Linked DNA regions of Homo sapiens: region 1 is linked to region 2. Evidence: promoter capture Hi-C in human tissues and cell types (Jung and others, 2019). All regions are on one chromosome and are shown on one strand. The core of a region is centred on a gene start or on the middle of the fragment in contact, and the rest is flanking DNA. Distances in the headings are between cores, read along the strand shown. Region 1 has its middle 4.5 kb from the start of SEMA6C. Region 2 holds the start of SNX27 (sorting nexin 27).

Region 1 (5,113 bases), core at 1,808-4,307, 460 kb before region 2:
AGACAACACCAAGTCTCAAAAGAAAAGCTACATTGAACATAAATTTCCAAATGTGCAAAGAAGACAATAAATATTCTCCGAAGACTGCACAGAAAGATGCTGGATACATTTTATCATGAAGGACAGGAAAACTTTGGTGGGAGTTGGCTTGGTGCAAAAGAAGAAAATGTTCCCGAGGGACACAGCTTCAGCAAAAGCTTTTACTTGGTTAGCAAGGAGCCTGCAGCATGGATAAAAAAAAGGTCCTGTGAGGCTGGTGTGTGGGAAAGGCACTAGTTAGGAGCAAGGGGAGGGAAAAGGGGAAGACAAATTACAGAAGGCCTGGAATGACTAGGTGAGCTGGTTAAAATCATCTGACAGGAGTAGGACGTCATTTTAAATTCTTGAAAAAGGGTGCAACTTGTATTTTTTTATTTTTTTAAGCAAGAAGACAGAGACCTACTAGCAAGTAAACAAGGTTTAAAGGTGAGGGGAGAGGGACAATCAGACAAGGGTGATGGGAACAGATTTAGAAAGAAATACATGAATCTGAGAGCTATTTTGAAGGACAAATCAAAATGACTCTCTTGGCTGGGCGAGGTGGCTCACCCCTGTAATCCCAGCACTTTGGGAGGCCGAAGTGGGCAGATCACCTGAGGTCAGGAGTTCTGAGACCAGCCTGGCCAACATGGAGAAACTCCAGCTCTGCTAAAAATACAAAAAAAAATTAGCCGGGTGTGGTGATGGGCACCTGCAATCCCAGCTACTCAGGAGGCTGAGGCAGGGGAATTGCTTGAACTCAGGTGACAGGAGATTGCAGTGAGCCAAGATCGTGCCACTGCACTCCAGCCTGGGTGACACAGAGGGAGACTCTTAAAAAAATAAAAATAAAAATAAAAAACCTCTCTTCCTACTCCCTTAGTGTTTTGAAGAAAATCACACAGTCCTGGCCGGGCGCAGTGACTCAGGCCTGTAATCCTAGCACTTTGGGAGGCTGAGGCGGGTGGATTGCCTGAGCTCAGGAGTTCGAGACCAGCCTGGGCAACAACAGTGAAACCCCGTCTCTACTAAAATAAAAAGAATTAGCCGGGCGTGGCGGTGTGCGCCTGTAGTCCCAACTACTGGGGAGGCTGAGGCAGGAGAATTGCTTGAACCCAGGAGGCGGAGCTTGCAGTGAGCCGAGATCGCACCACTGCACTCCAGCCTGGGCAACAGAGCGAGACTCCATCTCAAAAAAAGGAAATCACACAGTCCCACAGATTGGATTGGAAAAGCACTCTCTTCCAATCCCCAGGGAGATATTTCAAACTTCCTCCTTTTTTTGCAAGTTCCTTTCCTTACCATTTCCTTGTTCATCTCAGGAAAACCCTCATCCGTCTTCAGAGAAAACAGAGATAATAAAGTGAGAATTCCACCAACTTTTTGCTCCCTACAGATATACTTACCTGCATCATGTCTCTCTCATCCTAGTGAATGCCATCCGTATCACCTGTCGAAGGTTCACCTATGACTTTACTGTAAGTTGTATGCAGTCCCTGGTTGTCTATCTTGCTCAACACTGTATCCTTTCCTTGTAGCATAGTGCCTGCACACAGAAAGTATTAACTTAAAAAAAAAATAGAGGCAGAGTCTCATTGTGTTGCCCAGGCTGGTCTTGAACTCCTAGGCTCAAGTGATTCTCCTGCCTCGGCCTCTCGAACTGCTGGGATTACCGGCGTCAGCCACCATTCCCAGTCTTAACCTGTCCTTTTCTACTGATATTTTCCCCTTAGCATATACACATGCTCAAGTAATTCCCATGATTAAAAGGAAAACATTCCAAACTTTCTCTTGATCCTTGTCTGCACCCAGTCATCACTCGATTTCTCTTCCCTTCATAACTAAGCTTCTAGAGTTACCTATACTTGCTATATCCATTTTCATGATTCTCATTCTCAATCATTTTAGTTTTTGTCCCCATCAGTCCACTGAGATTGCTCTCATTAAGGCCACCAACGACCTCCTGGTCACATTCAATGAACAACTCTTCAGTCTTTATCCTTTTGCCCTCTCTGTGCCATTTGACCTGTTGACTCCCCCCTCCTTGAAATGCTTTCTTCTTTTGGCTCCTGAGGTCCCTCTTTCTCTTAACAAAGACTAGGGGCTTAATAAATATGTATTTTTAATGAATGGATAGTTTCACTTCTATTAATATGGCTTTTCTTTTCTTTTCTTTTCTTTTTTTTTTTTTTTTGAGACAGAGACTCACTCTGTCGCCCCAGGCTGGAGTGCAGTAGCATAATCTTGGCTCACTCACTGCAACCTCCACCTCCTGGGTTCAAGCGCTTCTCCATCTCAGCCTCCCGAGTAGCTGGGATTACAGGCGCCCACCACCACGCCCAGCTAATTTTTATATTTTTAGTAGAGACAGGGTTTCGCCATGTTGGCCAGGCTGGTCTCGAACTCCTGACCTCAAGCGATCTGCCCACCTCAGCCTCCAAAGTGTTGGGATTACAGGTGTGAGCCACCACACCCAGCCTAATATGACCTTTCTTAGCCTTCTCTGACCTCTCTAAATGCTGGTGTTCCCTATGGTCATGTCCTTAGCCACCTCTTTCTTCTCTACCCATTCTCATTGGTCAAGATAATCCGACAATGAGAACAGTTACAAAACCAACAGTTACAATAAACTGTTTTGTTTTGTTTTGTTTTGAGATGAGTCTCCCTCTGTCACCTAGGCTAGAGTGCAGTGGCTCACTCGGCTCACTGCAAGTTCCGCCTCCCGGGTTCACACCATTCTCCTGCCTCAGCCTCCAGAGTAGCTGGGACTACAGGCACCTGCCACCATGCCCAGCTAATTTTTTTTTTTTTTTTGTATTTTCAGTAGACACAGGGTTTCACCGTGTTAGCCAGGATGGTCTCGATCTTCTGACCTCATGATCCGCCCGCCTGGGCCTCCCAAAGTGCTGGGATTACAGGTGTGAGCCACTGCGCCCGGCCACAATAAACTGTTTATATGTTGCTTACCATAAAATCTAGGTGTTCAACTCAGGTCTTTCTCCTGAGTTCTAGACTCATGTATACAATTGCTTATTGGATACTTCCATTTGGATTTTTCATGTTTACCACTTAGTCTAAAGACAGGAAGTAGCCAGGCGCAGTGGCTCACACCTATAATCCCAGCACTTTGGGAGGCTAAGGTGGGCAGATCACCTAAGGTTGGGAGTTCAAGACCAGCCTGACCGACATAGAGAAACCCCGTCTCTACTAAAAATACAAAATTAGCCGGGCATGGTGGCGGGCGCCTGTAGTCCCAGCTACTCAGGAGGCTGAGGCAGGAGAATCACTTGAACCCGGGAGGTGGAGGTTGCCATGAGGCAAGATCGCGCCATTGCACTCTGGCCTGAGCAACAAGAGCGAAACTCCATCTTAAAAAAAAAAAAAAAAAGACAGGAAGCTTGTCTTTTATCTTTTTATCCCCAGCACTTAATTGTAATGCCTGGCATACAGTAAGTAGAGGAAGAAATAAATGCATCAAAGATTAAAAACAAACAAACATCCTATGGCTCAGAGGAAAAACAACAACAACAACAAAAAACAAAAACAAAAAAAAAACAAGCCAGGTATGGTGGCTCATTTCTGTAATCCCAGCATTTTGGGAGGCCAAGGCAGGCGAATCATGAGGTCAGGAGATCGAGACCATCCTGGCTAACATGGTGAAACCCCGTGTCGATTAAAAATACAAAAAATTAGCTGGGCGTGGTAGCGCGCGCCTGTAATCCCAGCTACTCAGGAGGCTGAGGCAGGAGAATAGCTTGAACCTGGGAGGCAGAGGTTGCAGTGAGCCGAGATCGTGCCACTGCACTCCAGCCTGGGCGACAGAGTGAGACTCCATCTCAAAAAAGTAAATAAATAAAAATAGGACAGGCACGGTGGTTCACACCTGTAATCCCAGCACTTCGGGAGGCCGAGCTGGGCGAATCATGAGGTCAGGAGTTCAAGACCAGCCTGGCCAACATAGTGAAACCCCGTCTCTACTAAAAATACAAAAATTAGCCGGGCGTGGGGGTGCGCGCCTGTAATCCCAGCTACTTGGGAGGCTGAGGCAGGAGAATCACTTGAACCCAGGAGGCAGAGGTTGCAGTGAGCCGAGATCATGCCACTGCACTCCAGCCTGGGCGACAGTGTGAGACTCGATCTCATAAATAAATAAATAAATACCCCAAACAAAAAAAGAGTAAAAGCTGTGAACTATCTCCAGCTATGTCAGGCTGACTTACTTGACTGCTTTAAATCACACTAAACTTACTCTTTCTGAACTGATATGAGAGTATTGATCTTAACCATGGTAAAACCTCACCTAAAACAAACATCGGACTGTTCCATCCTGAATACTTTTCCAAATAACTGAAGTTTATCCAATTAAGTGCAAAATATCTTCATTTTGCTTCAAAGTAGAAATTGCTCAAAAAAGTACTATTCACTTCCTGTAGATTATACAGTGGAAAGAGCACCATTGAAAGTCATTGAGACTTAGCTAGATTCATCTCTGGAGTATGGCTTTGGATAAACTACTTATCTCTAAGTCTGATTCTGTCTTCTGTAAGTGGACATACTACCTTCCTGCCTACTTCTTAGGATCAAATAAGATCCTGTAGGTGAAACATTTTGCAAATTCAAAAGTGTTTTGCACATTTAAGATACCGTCATTTGGCCAGGGTACACAGTGACTCACTCCTGTAATCTCAGCACTTTGGGAGATTGAGGCAGGAGGTCTGTTTGAGTCCAGGAGTCCAAGGCTGCAGTGAGCAGTGTGAGCCACTGTACTCCAGCCTGGGCAAGATAGCAAGACCCTATCTCTAAAAAAAATTTGTGGCCAGGCGCAGTGGCTCACGCCTGTAATCCCAGCACTTTGGGAGGTCGAGGTGGGTGGATCACAAGGTCAGGAGTTCGAGACCAGCCTGGCCAATATGGTGAAACCCCATCTCTACTTAAAATACAAAAAAATTAGCTGGGCATGGTGGCACATGCCTGTAATCCCAGCTACTCGGGAGGCTAAGGCAGGAGAATTGCTTGAATCCGGGAGGTGGAGGTTGCAGTGAGCCGAGATCACGCCGCTGCACTCCAGCCTGGGTGACAGAGCGAGACTCCATCT
Region 2 (5,157 bases), core at 2,376-4,875:
CCACTATCCTTCTCTGCCGCAATTGCTAACTCTTCTCATCTGTAATCACTTAGCTCAGCTCTCCCATTTCGTGAGTCATCTTCCCTAACTCCTCCCTCTGGATACGTGGAAGTCCCTCCGATGTGCAATCCTAGCAGCTTGTGCAGGACTCTCCTCACAGCTCTCATCATGCTCTATTGCAATGGTTTTTTGTTTTCTCTCCTGCTAGATTGTGAATTCTCACCAGCAGTAATGGTGTCTTATTTTCTTTTGTTATTTTAATGCTCTGATCATCTTTTCTTCCAACCTGATCCTTTCTAAATATTTTTAAATTTATTTTTTGAATAGGCAACACTCATGTGACTGAAAATTCAGAAGTTACATAAAGGTATAAAGTGAAAAGTCTCTCTCCTACCCCTGTCCCCGCCTCTGACACCCTAGCTATCCAGTCTCCCTCCCCAGCAGCAATCAGTGTTATCAATTTCTTGTGAATACTTCTAAAGATATAAAAATATATATGGTTCCCTTTTATTTTATTATTATCTTTTTAGATGGAGTCTTGCTCTGTCGCCAGGCTGGAGTGCAGTGGCGTGATCTTGGCTCACTGCAACCTCCACCTCCCAGGTTCAAGCGATTCTCCTGCCTCAGCCTTCTGATGAATACAGGCACCTGCCATTATGCCCGGCTAATTTTTGTATTTGTTTTGTTTTGTTTGTTTTTGAGACAGAGTCTTGCTCTGTTGCCCAGGCTGGAGTGCAGTGGCACAATCTCAGCTCACTGCAACCTCCACCTCCCGGGTTCAAGTGATTCTTCTGCCTCAGCCTCCCGAGTAGCTGGGACTACAGGTGTGCACCACCACACCCGGCTAATTTTTGTATTTTTAGTGGAGACGGGGTTTCGCCATGTTAGCCAGGCTGGTCTCAAACTCCTGACCTCAGGTGATCCACCCACCTCGGCCTCCCAAAGTGTTGGGATTACAGGCGTGAGCCACCGTGCCTGGCCCATGGTTCCCGTTTTATATACAAATAGTATCATGTTGTATAGATTGTGCTGCACTTTGTTTTCACCAAATCATATATAGTATTGATGATATGATCATTCCATATAAGTGCATACAGAGCTTCCTTATTCTGTGTTTACATTGATTCAATTTTCCATTGTGGATACATTATGATTTAACAAATAAACATTAGGTTGTTTTCAGTCTTTTGTGAATACAAACAATGCTGCAATGACTTAACTTCATAAAAACATCACTTCACACATGTGCAAGTGTAACAGTAGAATGAACTCCTGGAAGTGGAATCGCCTTCAGTTTGAGGAATATGTGTATTTGTAAGTTTGACCATGTCCTGTTGCCTTTCGGGGACATTCAGTATATTTTTATCTAATTCAGAGTAGGCATTCAGTATATTTTTATCTAATAAACCAATGAAAAAATAACTCTTTTAGGGGAGGCTCCCTTCTTTTTCCTTTCTCTGATGCCTTGCTTTCCCCATCCAGTGCTCAGTTCAAACCAAATTATTCATATTCAATCCAAATGCCACTATTATTTTGGAGCAAAACTCTTATATCAACTTTATTGTGTAACTAGTCAAGATCCTTCTTCATTAGCTTGGTTGTAAAATAAGGTCATATTAATTTTTATGTTCTAATTATAATGACTTTGAGTCCTCATCCCATATTTTGTGAGATCTCATCTTTGTTTTTTGGAGACAGGATCTCACTCTGATGGTCAGGCTGGAGTACAGTGGTGTGATCTCAGCTCTCTGCAGCCTTGACCTCCTAGGCTGAAGCGATCCTCCCACCTAAACCTCCTAAGTAGCTGGGACTACAGGTATGTGCCATCATGCCCAGCTGCTTTTTTTTTTTTTTTAGATATAGTCTCGCTCAGCCACCAGCTAATTTTTTATTTTTTGTTGAGATGGGGTCTCACTATGTTGCCCAGTTTGGTCTTGAACTCCTGGGCTCAAGGAATCCTCCCACCTCGGTCTCCCAAAGTGCTGGTATTACAGGCATGAGCCACCACACCCAGCCTTTAAAAATTTGGGGGGACTCTTTTGTAATAACAGTTAGCTTAAAACACAAACACATTGTACAGATGTACAAAATATTTTCTTTCTTTATATCTTTATTCCATAAGCTTTTTTTCTATTTAAGGCAATTTTTAATTTTATGTTTTAAACTTTTTTTTTTGGTTAAAAACTAAGACTTAAACACAAACATAGCCTATGCCTACACCAGATCTGGATCATCAATTTCACTGTCTTCCACCTCCATCTCTTGTCTCACTGGAAGGTCTTCATGGGTAATAACATGCACAGAGCTGTCATCTGATGGTAACAATAACTGGGGCCAGGCACAGTGGCTCACACCTGTAATCCCAGCACTTTGGGAGGCTGAGGTGGTTGGATCACCTGAGGTCAGGAGTTCGAGACCAGCTTGGCCAACATGGTGAAACCCTGTCTCTACTAAAAATACCAAAAAATTAGCCAGGCATGGTGGCGCATGCGTTTAATCGCAAGGGATTTGGGAGGCTGAGGCAGGAGAATCACTTGAACCTGGGAGGCAGAGGTTGCGGTGAGCCGATATCGTGCCATTGCATTCCAGCCTGGGCGATAAGAGCGAAACTCCATCTTAAAAAAAAAAAAAACAAAAAAACAAAACAAAACAAAAAAACACAATACTTGGAATACGTGGAAAAAAATCACAATACTTAGAATACCTAGAATACCTTCTGAAGGACCTGCCTGAGGCTGCTTTACAGTTAACTTAAAAAAAAAAGTAGAAGGAGTACACTCTAAAATAGTGATAAAAACTACAGTGAATTCATAAACTAGTAACATAGTTCTTACCATTATCAAGTATTATGTACTGTACATAATCATATGTGCTATACTTTCACATGACTGGCAGTGCAGGTTTGTTAACACCAGCATCACTCCAAACATGTGAGTAATGCTTGTGCTATGACCTTATGGTGGCTACTGTGCCACTAGGTGATAGACATTTTTCAGCTCCATTATCATCTTAGGGGGCCTCCCTCGTGTTTGCAGTCCATTGTAGACCAAAATGTCCTTATGTGGCACATGACTGTAGTTGCAATACAGGACAAGAAAGTTGCACAATAACTGGGCCTTAGTTCCTGATACTTAGTAGCTGGATGACTTTGAGCACTCTAAGGTTGTTTCCTAATAACGTAAAATAGGGAAGCTAATCGTGATCCGGTTGCCTCACAGGTTGTTGGGCCCTGGTCAACATATAAGTTACTGTGCCAAAAAATGAGTTGATATAATTTAAGACTGTGTTGAATCACAAACGTTAAGTTATTCTAACATTATTGTTTTTTAGAGGTTATGAAATGAAAGGGGGGGGGGCGAAAAACTTGGTCCGCATCAAGAACTGAATCATTTTACCACGCTGGGTGCTGGGTTATACTCTCCCCACCCAGCAGATCAAACTCCTAACCCAGCATGAAAGATAAACTACAACTCCCGGCAGGCCTTGCTTCCGAACTGCGTCTTATAACCTCGGCTCAGGCCCAGGCCCAGACCGCTCCCCGCCCCCGCCACCCATAAACTACATCTCCCAGGAGGCCCCACGGTGCCCGATTGTCCGCTTTTCGCCCGCCCCCTGCCTCCTCTTCACCCCGCGCCAGCAGCTCGGTGGCCGAGTCGGTCCCGCGGCCGGCGGATCGGGCGCGCGCGTCGGGGGTCGTCCGGCTGCCAGGCAGGGCGAGCACGCGCCGGGAGGCCTTGGAGGCGTAGGGGGCGGGGGTACGGCTCGCCTGCTCGCAAGATGGCGGACGAGGACGGGGAAGGGATTCATCCCTCAGCCCCTCACAGGAACGGAGGTGGCGGCGGCGGCGGGGGGTCTGGGCTCCACTGCGCCGGGAACGGCGGCGGGGGAGGCGGCGGCCCGCGGGTCGTGCGCATCGTCAAGTCCGAGTCCGGCTACGGCTTCAACGTGCGGGGCCAAGTGAGCGAGGGCGGGCAACTGCGGAGCATCAACGGGGAGCTGTACGCGCCGCTGCAGCATGTGAGCGCCGTGCTGCCCGGGGGGGCGGCCGATCGGGCCGGGGTGCGCAAGGGGGACCGCATCCTGGAGGTGTGAGTATCGGGGCTACCCGCCGCCCCATCCTCCCCGCGCCCCTCCTGCCCCTGCACTCCTCGCTACCCTTGTCACCCCCAGGCCGCACCTCCCCCGAGCTCCGAGCCGGCCTCCGGACCCCCGCCCCTCAGGCCTCCGCAGCCGGGCCCCTCCTTGTGGGCTGCCCTCCCACCACCCGCCCCGGGGCTTCTGCGACGCCGGTCTCCCACCCCGTCGTCTCCAGCTGATGCCCTTGCGCCCCCAGTGCTCCTCCCTGTGCCCCGATTACTCTGGGCTCTTCTCCGCCCCTTTGCCTTCCCGTTTGGCGTGCTGCATTCTGCTCCTCACTCCCCCTCGTCTTGCTCAGAAGGAACCTCATCTGCTCCTTACTGACGGCGTTTCGTTTTCTGATCCAGCCAGTACCGTGTCCCCCCCAAGTTCTCATCTTCAGCATCGCAGTTTCGTTCTCCACCACTCCCCTCCGCCCCCGTGGACTGCCCCTTCTGCCCTCCAGACCAAGTAGGCAGGACCTCTGGTCTGCTCCTACTTTTCCTCCGGAAACACCATCCCTCCCCGCTCGTCTCCTTTTTCTTTCCTTAGTTACCCTCTCCTCATGGTTACGCTGCCCCTAAATTTTTCCATCCCACCGTGTGCCCCTTTCCTCCCCTCCTTTTTGTATTTCTACTCCAAGAGTTTACCTTGCTTTCTGACCCTTGCATGCCTTTGGGGTGGGGGGCGTGGGATTTGACACCGTAGTTTCTCTTCTCGGTTGGCCCCGTATCACACCCTAATTTGGAATCTAGCGTCTCCATCAGCACACCCCTCTGAGAGCATCCCTTCCCTGGCCTCCTGCCTTCACTCCTGCTCTATACTCATGCCTCCTCCTAGTCAGGTTTATGGTAGACCCCTTGTAACTCCTCCTCCTTCAAAACTACTTCAAGCCCTTTTTGGGTCTTTGACCGCTTTGCTTTTTTAGGGCATGCCCGTCTCTGCTGCCTCTTCTACTCTATCCTCCTGTGATCCCACACTTGACTTTGTCCTAGTCTTTCCCTCCCCTAGGCTGCTTTTCCTTTCTTCTGTTTTTTAAGG

The links. The method cuts DNA at HindIII sites, captures the fragments that hold promoters and counts their contacts. A contact is called where the count stands out against the background at its distance.
Region 1: a contact is called between a fragment that was not itself captured here and the fragment with the promoter of SNX27 in region 2, in 1 of the 25 tissues and cell types used here (hippocampus).

The regions. Positions count from the first base shown.
Region 1 is chr1:151,148,541-151,153,653 of GRCh38, forward strand. It overlaps a transcript of LYSMD1 not described here. Among named protein-coding and RNA genes, the nearest start is that of SEMA6C, 4.5 kb to the left of the region's middle. The HindIII fragment of the contact is 4,054 bases long and covers 1,031-5,084 here.
Region 2 is chr1:151,608,425-151,613,581 of GRCh38, forward strand. SNX27 (sorting nexin 27) reads left to right here and starts at 3,626. Exons shown (of 12, transcript NM_001330723.2): 1 at 3,626-4,088. The coding sequence starts at 3,778. LOC124904420 (a long non-coding RNA gene) reads right to left here and starts at 4,944. Exons shown (of 2, transcript XR_007066622.1): 1 at 4,767-4,944; 2 at 2,093-3,975. RefSeq lists an enhancer at 3,402-3,501 and a silencer at 3,542-3,981. The HindIII fragment of the contact is 9,196 bases long and covers 1-5,157 here.